Linked DNA regions of Homo sapiens: region 2 is linked to region 1. The links are contacts of gene promoters, found by promoter capture Hi-C in human tissues and cell types (Jung and others, 2019). All regions are on one chromosome and are shown on one strand. The core of a region is centred on a gene start or on the middle of the fragment in contact, and the rest is flanking DNA. Distances in the headings are between cores, read along the strand shown. Region 1 holds the start of AOAH (acyloxyacyl hydrolase). Region 2 holds the start of GPR141 (G protein-coupled receptor 141).

Region 1 (5,942 bases), core at 3,443-5,942:
AACTCAAAACAGATGAAAGACTTAAGTGCAAGACCTGAAAAACTATAAAACTAGTAGAAGGAAAAGGTGGGAAAATGCTTCAGGACATTGGTTTGGGCAAAGACTCTTTGGGTAAGAACTCAAAAGCATAGGCAATAAAAGCAAAAATAGACAAATGAGACTACATCAAGCTAAAAACTTTTTGCATAGCAAAGGAAACAATCAACAGAGTGAAGAGACAATCTGCAGAATGGGAGAAAATATTTGTAAACTACCTACCTGACAAGGAATTAATAGCCAGAATATACAAGGAGCTCAAACAACAGCAAAAAACCTGATTAGAAAATGGGCAAAGGATCTGAATAGATATTTCTCAAAAGAAGACATTCAAATGGCCAACAGGTATATTTAAAAATGCTCAGCATCATGAATCATGAGGGAAATGCAAATCAAAGTCACCCTGAAATATCATCTCACCCCAATTAAAATGGCTATCATCAAAAAGACAAAAATAACTGATGCTGGTAAGGATGCTTTGAAAGGGCACTACTAGCACACTGTTGGTGGGATTATAAATGGTACAGCCCACTATAGAAAACAGTATGGAGCTTCCTCAAACAACTAAAAATAGATCTAATATATAATCTATCAATCCCACTGCTGGTTATGTATTCAAAAGAAAATCAGTATGTTGGAAAGGTATACTGACATACTTTGTAGTATAAACCCATGTTTATTGCAGCACTAGCCACAGCAGTCAAGGTATGAAATCAACTTAAGTGTCCATCAACAGATAAATGGATAAAGAAAATGTGGTACATGTACACAATGGAATACCATCTGGCCATTAAGAAGAATGAAATCCTGTCATTTGCATCGACATGGATGAAACTGGAGGTTATTATGTTAAGTGAAATAAGCCAGGCACAGCAAGACAAATACTGCATGTTCTCACTCACTTGTGGAAACTAAAGAAGGTGATCTCAAGGAGGTAGAGAATAGAACGATAGATACCAGAGACTTGGAAGGGTGGGAAAGGGTGAATAAAGAGAGATTGATTAATGGCTACAGAAATACAGTTAGATGGAATAAGTCCTGGTGTTGAATAGCACAGTAGGGTGACTTTGGTTAACAACAATTCATTGTATATTTCAAAATAGCTGGAAAAGAGAATTTTAAATGTTTCCAAGACAAAGAAATGATACATATTTGAGATGACGGATATCCTAATTACCCTAATTTGATCATTACACATTGCATGCACGTATTGAAATGTCACATGTACACCAGAAATATGTACAGTTATTATGTAGCAATTTTTAAAATCTTGATTTAAAAAACTTCCCCCAAAATTTCAATGCTACTTGAGAAGAATAATGTGAATTCATTGTCAGCTTCACATTCATCTAACAGTTAATATTATGTTTTTAAATTCATGTTGTCTCTCTAATTCTCACAATTTTCTTAAATATTGACATTATATGCCCTATTCTATAGTAAAATAAACTGGTATTCTGAAAGGTGGAGCAGCTTACCCAGGGCACACAGCTACTAGGAGGGGAGCCCATGACACAGGCCCCCCATCCTAGCCCAGAGCTCTTTTAATGAGCCCCCATGCATCCTCAGCATGGGTTAATTTACCCTGTCCTTAGCAGACAGCAGAACAGAATAGAATGAGGCTAGCGTTAATAAGCTCTGACTGAGGAGGAGGGGAGCAGCAGAGGGCCTGGTTTTGGTAGATGGGAACTGAGGACTGCTGTACACAGTCCTGGGCAGCCAGGAGTAACAGGGCAGCATGGACCTGGGCCTTAGAGAGAGGAGAAAGTCTAAGACGAGACACGTGTTGGTGACAGTGCCAGCTTTTACAGGATCTCCCATCACCCACCTCTTTTTTTTTTTTTTTTTTTTCTGATTAAGGAACTTGCTGTGGATGAGGTGGTTGAGGCCAATGTGGTCAAAAAATATTCAGGAAGCATATTCATACTGAACAAGCAGACCACAGGTGCAACACTTGGGGATCACAAAGCCTTAGCCTTCCATGGCACAGGGGAAAGCAGTGGTTTGAATCAGAGCTGTTTGAGTGAAATCAGTAACAAAGTGCTTCAGGGAAGAAATCTCATTTTCAAGAGCAGATTTCGAGATGATTCAAAATTGGAACATCTGACAGTGGGGTCCTGCAGGAACATTCTCCAGGGCCTGACTAGTTGTTCTAAACCACAGGTAGGTCCAGGGCCTTTTGGCAAGCTGTGCAAAGATCCCAAGTCATTTGCACTCAGTACTTGATGAGCAAAGGCAGCCCTGTCAGGGGCAATGATACCAGCCAGTGTGAAGGACAACTGTGCAAATGGGAGGGTCCACTCCATCCTGGTGACGGAGAGGGATGTTTTGTTCAGTGGTCTGTGCACACGTGCACTTTGTTCCAGCTTCTGCTGGCGAAATCACTTTCTGATTTCTGCATTCTTCCTTTGATCATGCCCAGTAAGAACTCACCCTCCAAGCATGAAAAATCCTTCCATTACTGAAAACCTATGTGTCAGGTTTTACCATGATATATTCCTACGAAGTAGATAGTCTCACCTCCCTTTTCTAGCTGAGGACTGTCACCTCTGGAAACAGGAAGGGGCTTGCTCAATACTGCACAGCTAAGTCAGCGACTCCCACTGTGACCAGCCCCGAAGCCTGAGCACACTAGAGAGTTTCAGAGCCGACCATCCCTGGGATGGTTGTGAATGGCACTGCCTGGCCCACATACATGCGATGAAGGGCACAAAACTTGCATTTCCGGCATACCAAGAAATCCCTCTCACTCTAAGAGTTTCCAGACCTGCTCGCAGCTATACATTGAGACCAGGAGAGCCTCAAGAGGCCCAAAGCCTGTGTCAAATGCTCTTCCAGAAGCCCTCAGGAGAGTCCTCACCCATTTATGGATTAGACAAACTAGACCACACACTCCTGGAGTGCTGTAGCACAGCTGGAAGGTATTCAATAAATCCTCCCTTTTCCTGTCCTCACCATTTCCCATGTATGACATGATGGCCTACAACTACCATGGGCGTCTTGGAATTCTCTTGAAGCTGGTCTGGGGTGCAGGTTTCATCACACTCCTGCTAGAGTCATAGACAGATGCACTAAGCACTTACTTCTTGCCAGCCATGCTGCTTTGTTGTTTGGATACATCATGTATTCGAGTGCTTCCAGCAGCGCATTGGAGCGGATATTACCATTATCCCAATAGAAATGAGCTACTTGGGAGGCTGAGGTGGGAAGATCACTTGAACCCAGGAGGTCAACACTGCAGTGAGCTGTGATCACACCACTGCACTCCAGCCTGGATGAAAAAGCAAGGCCCTGTCTCAAAAAACAAACAAACAACAACAACAACAACAAAAACAAGACACTGAAGGGGGGAAAGTTACATCACTGGTCTAATATATTACTCAGAATAAACAGTAGACATGAGACGTAAGCATGAGCCTTTCTGTCTTCACAATCTGAGTTCCTAATCAATCAGTCCTTTATTTAGCCTCCCTTGGAAGTCTCTGGAACTTCTCTAGGCCTCACCCCTGTGGTGGTCCTAGTGACCCCAGAGCTCCCCTTAGTCACAGAGTGAAGAACTGAAGCAGCAGCACCTTAGAGTCAGAGGAAGTCACAGGCCCATGGACGCCTAACGATATCCTCAGTATTGGGCTGGAAGTGTAATTAGGGAAACACTCTGACTTGTGCTATCTCTGCAGCAGGTTTGGGAATTGTAGCCCCATCGGTGCTTGTAAGACTAATGACTGCACAAGAAATCTTCCAACCATAAAAACTGGTATTTCCTACATCCTGGAAAGGATGCTACTCTAAAACTTTGCCTGCTACTCCAAATGCTATTTTTTTTAATTGCTAACAATTTAGATAGCTTCTATAATATTTCAAAATTTGTAATAAGCTCCCTCAGAGCCTAAGCAGAGAGAAACAGAATCTCATGACCTCCTACACTTACCTAGACTGTGGTACTTTGGCCCTGTCCTCTTATCTTGACTGAGAATGGCATATGATTTTGTTTTATCTTATTTTAGAGAGAAACATTTAGATTATATGTCTTTTATCTATGATCTGGTTCCGATTTTTTTTTTCCCTCAGAAAGACAGTGTTCAGTTCTATTCTTCAGAGCAGAAAATCAGTCTCTTAACAAATCATCCACAAAATGCACTTCGAAATTCTGGAGAAAAAAAAGATGCATTGTGCACAGCCTAGCAACTGTGAATTGATTAATTCTAACCCATGTTTTTTCTCATTAGGTCTAAAATCCCACCATGCTAACTGCCCATTATTTTCTGTACTGTTTATTTTCTGCACACCAAATAAAAGGCCTTGACCCTTCAAGGAATAACCCAATTTCTCCAGAGGAAAGATATTATTTGACCAGAATATCCTTTTACAACAAAATAAGGATCACAACCTTACCATATAAAGCTGTTGAAAACAAGACTAAGTAAGTTCTGAATGTAACCAATTAGAATTTCTACAATATGTGGGTGCTGCTGATCAAATTGTTAAAGGGTTGTGTGCTTGTGGATTAGTTTTTTTTTTCTTTTTTCTTCTCAGTTTTGGCTTTAGTATCGTTTTGTTTTGTTTTGCAAGAATGAAAGGGGAAGGGCCTCCTAACCAACCCAACAGATCAGTTCCGGCAAGCCTCGAGGCTCACGGGGTTTATGCACACTAACTTCACTGAGCCAGGGAGCACGGAAGTTGTGCCACTGTGCAACTTGGGTTTTCTTTATCCTGCAGTCTTTACCTCAGCAGAACCGCACACCACAGACTCCCTCCAGCTCTTTGTGTGTGGCTCTCTCAGGGTCCAACAAGAGCAAGCTGTGGGTCTGTGAGTGTTTATGTGTGCTTTTATTCACTTCACACTTATTGAAAAGTGTGTATGTGAGAGGGTGGGGTGTGTGTGTCAAAGAGAGTGAGGAAGAGAAGGAGAGAGAGATCAATTGATTCTGCAGCCTCAGCTCCAGCATCCCTCAGTTGGGAGCTTCCAAAGCCGGGTGATCACTTGGGGTGCATAGCTCGGAGATGCAGTCCCCCTGGAAAATCCTTACGGTGGCGCCTCTATTCTTGCTCCTGTCTCTTCAGTCCTCGGCCTCTCCAGCCAACGATGACCAGTCCAGGCCCAGCCTCTCGAATGGGCACACCTGTGTAGGTATGCAAATAAATATTTTTGTATTTTCTATGTAGACATAACAATGGGATCCAGTACTTTGCTTGCGTAATAAATCACATATTTTATTAAATCAAGAATTGTAAGATTCCAGGTAAGGCACCAGTAACCTCACTGACACAGAGAAATGTGGAGTCTAAGAGTAGACATTGACACTACATACATCTATGTGAATAAAAAGCATACTAGTTTAAATTGGGCATAAAACTCTTCCACCTCATTGGCGATTGGAATTTTTTCTTCTTGTATAGGTAACTATTATTTCAGGCTATTTTAGTCTGAAATTTTTACTGCTTTTCATGGGCTTTGACCTCATATAAACACATCTGAGTTTGAATCACTGCCCTCCTCCTACCCTTCTCTCCCATTTCCTACTGGCTGTGGAAACCTGGAGCAATGTACTTAACCCTCTCCATGCTTCTGTGTCCTTATTGGTGAACTGAAGTGAGTGAGACCCATCTCATAGGGATACCATGGAAATTGTGACCATGCATGTAAATCTGTGGCATGTGCACACAGTAAGGACTCAACCATCTTAGCTTCCTTCCGTCTCTCAGAGAATCCAGATTTGGCGATCACCTGGAGACGCTGAGCGTTGATATGGCTTCTTGGCTCATCTGTTAATGAAGTGTTTTATTTCCAAGAGGTTTTTTTTGTTTGTTTTTTTTGGATGAGAGCAGGAAGTAAGGTAAGATCTTTGATATTCACATTGTAGCTCTCATAACATGGGAATTCTCATAATAGTGGTGGCATTTAGATG
Region 2 (6,497 bases), core at 1,513-4,012, 960 kb before region 1:
AGGAAATTATGTTTTTAGGAAACAGACTATGCTTAGATTAAGTTTGATTATGACTGTCACGAATAATAACATTGTCATTCAAAATAAGATGGGACAATAACATAATTTGGAAAATACTTTGGTATAACGTATGAACTAGCTTTGAAAACACTTTGCAAAGCAATGTCTCAGAAATCTTTGATCAATTGAAAATTGTTTTCAATGTTATTACTTTGAAAGACAGCACAGACTTGCACATATTCTAACTTCTTTAAAATATTTTTAGTCTGAGTCTGAGTCAGGAAGACTGCTTGAGCCCAGGGATTTGAGACCAGCCTTGGCAACATAGTGAGACCCCCTCTCTAAAGAAAAAAAAAAAAAAAAAAGGCAGGCAGGGTGGCTCACACCTGCACTCCCAGCTATTCGGAAGGCTGAAGTGAGAGGACCACTTGATTCCAGGAGGTGAAGGCTTCAGTGAGCTGTGATTGTGCCACTGCACTCCTGCCTTGGAGACAGAGCGAGGCCCTGTCCCAAAAATATATTTTTTAACATATTATTTAACAATATATTTAACACATTATTTTAGTCACAACATGCTACGTCTCTTATAGTGCTAGCACAATGGCTTACCCATAGTAGACACCAGTAAACATTTCACAGGCTCATTGATTTTAAATTTGGAAAGCACTTTTAGAAATTAGCTAGACCTGTGGTCCTTAACTACAATTGGATTTTGGACCACTTTGAAAATCAATCCGTGTTTTTCTTATTTAAAAAAAAAAAAAAAAAAAAAAAAGTGCTGCCAGGCACAGTGGCTCATGTTTGTTATCCCAGTACTCTGAAAAGCCAAGGCAGGAGGATCACTTGTGCCCAGGAGTTTGAGACTAACCTGGGCAACATGAGCAAGACCCTGTCTCTATTTAAAAAAAAAAATTAATTAATTAGCCAGGTGTGGTGGCAAGTACCTGTAGTCTCAGCTACTGAGGAGGCTGAGATGAAAGGATCACTTGAGCCCCGGAGGTCGATGCTGCAGTCAGTGAGCCATGATTGAGTCGCTAAACTCCAGCCTGGGCAACAGAGAGAAAGGCCCTGAAGAAAGAAAGAGAGAAAGAGAGAGAGAGATGGAGGGAGGGAGGGAGGGAAGAAGGCAGGAAGGCAGGCAGGCAGGCAGGCAGGCAGGCAGGAAGGAAGGAGGGAGGGAGAGAAACACACACACGCACAAAAGGAAGAAAAGAAAAACACACACTTACATTTTTGCATGCAATTTCAGAGGATTGGTGTATCAATCTAAAGACCATCCAGGAACTCCCTTAGCTGAGCATCTCTTATCCAGTCTACAACTTCCATTTTATAATTGTTGAAAATCATTGCTAGAAGAATAGTTGGAAAATTGTGTCACCTAAGCCAAAGCTGGCTCACTTCTTGTTTTTATACAGCCTGTGAGCTACGAATGGTTTTTATAGTTTTAAATGGTTATGTAAGTACCAATATATTAGCCTCAGTTCTACCTCTTGGCTTGCAAAGCCTAAAATATTTACTATCAAGGCTTTTGTAGAAAAAGTTTGCCAACCCCTGGTCTGGAATCCTTAGACAATATTCCCCCAAATTATGCAGCCAATTACTAGAAAACAGAGGACTAGAATTCACACCACCTGATTCCTCATCCATTGGTCTTCCCATTACTTCTATTGACTGATTAAAATCCTAATTAACTGATTTAAACCCAATAAAACAGAAAACAAAGACATGTAATTCTGGAGTACTTAATAAGTAATTTCTCAGATAAGTAATTGTGCAGTTATGTAGAACGCTGAAGTCCAGAGAATTAAGTGACCTATCAAAAGTCATATAACAAATTTGTAAAAGAAACAAAATTAAATGCCTATATTCAGGTTAGGCATTACTGACTTATTGTTTAAAAACTTTGCATTATATTTCATTCCACATATTTGAAAAATATTACTTCTTGGAAGTAGAAAATACTGGTATAGAAAGTATTTTACTTAAAGTAAAATTATTTGAACAGATGTTGTTCTTTTTATTTATCTTATTTAAGAAGTTATTTTCAGATCCTTCCTGTTAAGTAGTACTTTAAAAGTGGGATGGAAAGAATTATAATTACCATTATTTCACATGTTATTTTGAATATACTTCTTTTAGAAATTTCTAAGTACTTGATTGCTTACAGATTGTTTCCTTCTATTGACTAGGGCTGCCTGAATAGTTTCAAACTCTATCTGAAAATAATGCAGTAATAGAGTTAAAGGATTTTCATAACAAAAGGAAATTAAGACATCACTTAAAAGATAAGCATTTGAATAATTATACACAAATTCAATAGTGCCAACTGCTCTAAAAAATTCTATGATATGTTTAGCTGGTTTTTTGACAGAGAGATTCTGAAATCATTTTTGTTCACATTTACCCATAAATATTAGGTTTTACTTTCAGAGCAGCATATCCTAAGCAGTAAGAATAGAACAATTCTTTCTATAAAGGAGGAGTTGTGGTCAGAGAATAAGCTTGCTTTTTAGAGCAGAACCATTTGAAGATTCTGAATTAGGACTATGCCAACAAATTAAGTGTGCTTTATTTCTATAGCACTTTCATTCATGTCTCCCCAAACCTAAGTCATCTGCACTTACCTTGAAAATCCAGATTTCTCAGTGATGGCTACAGAGATGGGCCACATGTCTGCCTTCCAAATAGGATTCTGTTTCAACAGCAGGGCAGCTGGGTCATTTCCATGCTCTGCATGCATTTGCAAAGGCTCTGGACAGCTCACCAAGCAAAAGGAAGTGAATGTGTTCTAAGTTCCTCAGAATGTCAACAGACCATAAAACCTCAAAACCATTTGAAACACAATAGTCTTGAAAAACCAAGCTCTTAAACATGAGTAGTCCAGGTTGCAAACTACAGAGAGGCCAATTGTCAAGAAATATTTATGAAGGATTGATGACTACGATGAATCAAGTTTTTAAAATGTTCTTCAAACTAAATTTTGTAGAGAATGGGGAACAAAGTGGTATTATCAAAAACAAAAAGGGAAGGTAAACTGTGTATTGTTCTTCTGGTGAAGGAATATGTGTAATATTTCCTTTCAGTAAGGAGAAAATTTCCAGAGTTGCTCTATACCTCACTGGTAACTTAGGGCTCCCACTTTTATAATTGTGTTAATTAGCTGTCACTGATAAATGGCATTGACTGGGATATGGCACTATAATTATGTCATTTAATTAGAATTAAGAGAGAAAATATTTAAAATCAGAGTGTGCTATAGGGGCAGGGGAGGGGAGTAAATCGTCACAGCTTAACTTTTTAGACTGTCAACATTATCTCCAGAAGAAGCTGCCCATACAGTCATAGAGATGCACTGCAAGTATTGAGAAAAAAAAACATCAGTTCCTCAAACTGCTTGAACTTTCCTACCATTTGATGACCACTCTATAAATTAGGATTTTATAAACTTTCTAATTATGTAAATCGGTGGTCCCCAACCTTTTTTGGCACCAGGGAAAGGTTTCATGGAAGACAATTTTTCCACAGACAGGGGTGGGGATGTTTTCTGGATGATTCAAGCACATTACATTTATTGCGCACTTTATTTCAATTGTTATTACATGATAATATATAATGAAATAATTATACAACTCATCATAATGTAGAATCAGTGGAAGCCCTGAGGTTGTTTTTCTGCAACTAGATGGTCCCATTTGGGGGTGATGGAAGACAATGATAGATCATCAGACATTAGATTCTCATAAGGAACACTGCAACCTAGATCCCTAGCATGGACAATTCAACAATAAGGTTCATGCTCCCATGAGAATCTAATGCCGCTGCTGATCTAACAGGAGGTGGAGCTCAGGCAGTAATGCAAGTGATGGGGAGCAGCTGTAAATATAGACGAAACTTTGCTGGCCCACTCGTGCACTGCTCCGCTCCTTCTGTACAGCCCAGTTCCTAACAGGCCACGAACCACTGCTGGTCTGTGGCCCAGGGGTTGAGAACTCCTGATGTAGACAGCATGTTAATATTATATAGAAATTGGTCAATTAAAAAGTACTAATTTATTAAATATCAACATTTTCAACATTCCCCTATTTTTAAAATCCATTGTGACATTTCACTATTTCAAAAAGAAATTTTAAAAGGCATCAAAATGATACTGGCCCTGGGTTCTTTCTATTTTAAGGTCCCTAAGTAGAATGATAACTTTGGTAATTTGGGGTGATTCCTGGTATTCTTTACAGTGCTAAAACACTCATTATTTTAGGCGAAATTTTTGCAGTTCTGTTTTCATCAGTATTCACATTTCTTACTCCAAACATAATGTTCTAAGTGCTTCCAACTTTGTTTCTTAGTTTGAAGAGAAGGCCTCTGCATCAGGAAACTCTTCAATTTCAGCAGATGTGCGTTCTTTCTGCCATATGAGTTAAAATGCTATCTGCTTCAAAATAACTCATGCTAGAGATATTTCAAGCTTTATTAGTTGTAGAGAAGATTGTTGCTGACAAACCCTCCTGCTGAGAGCAGCTTACAAAAATGAACAGAATGCAAAACCTATAAGTTTGAAGGCTTCAGAAAGCTGCCCAGGCAATGACACCTTGAAGAAATAAAATCCCCAGAAGACAGGAAGTACAAATCAGTGAATCTGATTTTCAACTCCTGAGTACTTTTTACTCAAGGCACTGCTGATTTGAAACTGGACACTGAGAGGTGAAGAAACAGGTGAAATACAGTGGCTAAGATGCTCAGAAGTTAAGGAAATCTAGTTTAAGAAGCAAACAGAGACCACCAAGGAGGTGGTGCCCTTATAATTACCTCAAATTTTCAGTTAGGACCCCTGAAGGGCTACACCCTAGGAGACAGCATGTGCTAAAAATATTGTACCATCACAAAGTGGGAGCCCAATTTCAAATCACCTAAATTGCTGAATTAGGTAGACAATCACTGAATAGATAGGAGATTTGCCATCGTCATAACGACCTCCTCACACACATCAAGCAAAAGTAAATACTCTCTGGAGGACGATAACACTAACCAGATCAATGAATTGACTCTCAAACTTTTTAAACACAATGTCCAAATTTCAATAACTATTAAAAGCCATGTCTGAAGATAAGTCTAGAAAAACAGACCATGAAAATAAACAGAAAATAGAAACAAATGCACAAGGGCATTCAGAATTGATTGGTTTTAAAATAGCTGTAATCAATGTTTGAAGAGAGTACACAAAATATAGAAAATTTACACTAGAGAATTTTTTTAATAAAATAGAAATTCTGAAACTGAAAAATAAAACAACTAAAGTTACTTAACTGATGAAGACTAATAGAAGATTAGACACAGAGGATGATGGAATTGAAATATAGGTCAGTAGAAAGTAGCAGATTGGGCTGGGCATGGTGGCTCACACCTGTAATCCCAGCACTTTGGGAGGCCAAGGCAGGTGGATCACCTGAGGTCAGGAGTTCAAGACCAGCCTGGCCAACATGGTGAAACCCTGTCTTTACTAAAAATACAAAAATTAGCTGGACATAGTGGTGGGTGCCTGTAATCCCAGCTACCAGGGAGGCCAAGGCAGGAGAATCGCTTGATCCCAGGAGGTAGAGGTTGCAATGAGCTAAGATCACACCATTGCACTCCAGCCTGGGTGACAAGCGCAAAACTCAGTCTCAAAAAAAAAAGAAAAAGAAAAAAAAGAAATACCAGATTGAATAATGGCAACAAAAAAAAGATAAAAATTATATAAAATCACACAAAAGTCATGAAAGACATAGGGCAAAGTTTTAACATGCCTATAATGTTGCTCTGGAAAGAAACAAGAGGAAGAATTTGGAAGAAACGATATTTTAAAGGGCAATACATTTTTTAAAAAATCATAATAAAAAAAGACATAGACTCAAGAAGCACTATGAATCCCAAAGAGAATAGAAACAACAACAAAAACTCTACCAAGGTCCAATATATGAAATAAAAAAATGAAGAAAGAAATTTTAAAATTATGTTACACGAGAAGCTGAGATGATAGGATTGCTTTCAGCCAGGAGTTTGAGACCAGCCTAAGCAACATAGTGAGACCTCCATCTCTAAAGAAAAAACAAAAACAAAACTTAAAATCTGTTCGGAGGCAAAAACTTTTAAGTGTGCAACAATAAGATTGAAGACAGCCTTTTCAACAACAGCAATGGAACCCAAAGGAAATGGAACAACATCTTCAAAATTGTAAAAGAAAATAACTGCTAATTTAGAGTTCTTTATGCAATAAAAATATCCATCATCTTGATGACACAATAATATTTTCAGACAAACTGAAACTATGATGATTTGTAACCCACCAACATGAACTAAGGGAAATGCTAAAAGGAGTGATTCCAAAAGTGCAAAGGCAATCCCAGGTGAGAGCCAGAACTGCACAAAGAAACCAAGAGCAATAGAAAGAGCAAATGTGTGGGTAAACCTATGTACATATCAAAGATTTACAATAACAATAGTAATCACCTAACAGGATTTGA

The links. The method cuts DNA at HindIII sites, captures the fragments that hold promoters and counts their contacts. A contact is called where the count stands out against the background at its distance.
Region 2: a contact is called between the fragment with the promoter of GPR141 here and the fragment with the promoter of AOAH in region 1, in 1 of the 25 tissues and cell types used here (hippocampus).

The regions. Positions count from the first base shown.
Region 1 is chr7:36,723,244-36,729,185 of GRCh38, reverse strand. It overlaps AOAH (acyloxyacyl hydrolase), which reads left to right and starts at 4,692. Exons shown (of 21, transcript NM_001637.4): 1 at 4,692-5,164. The coding sequence starts at 5,038. The HindIII fragment of the contact is 16,117 bases long and covers 1-5,942 here.
Region 2 is chr7:37,680,031-37,686,527 of GRCh38, reverse strand. GPR141 (G protein-coupled receptor 141) reads right to left here and starts at 2,762. Exons shown (of 3, transcript NM_001381946.1): 1 at 2,625-2,762; 2 at 945-1,068. RefSeq lists an enhancer at 4,700-4,759. The HindIII fragment of the contact is 6,620 bases long and covers 678-6,497 here.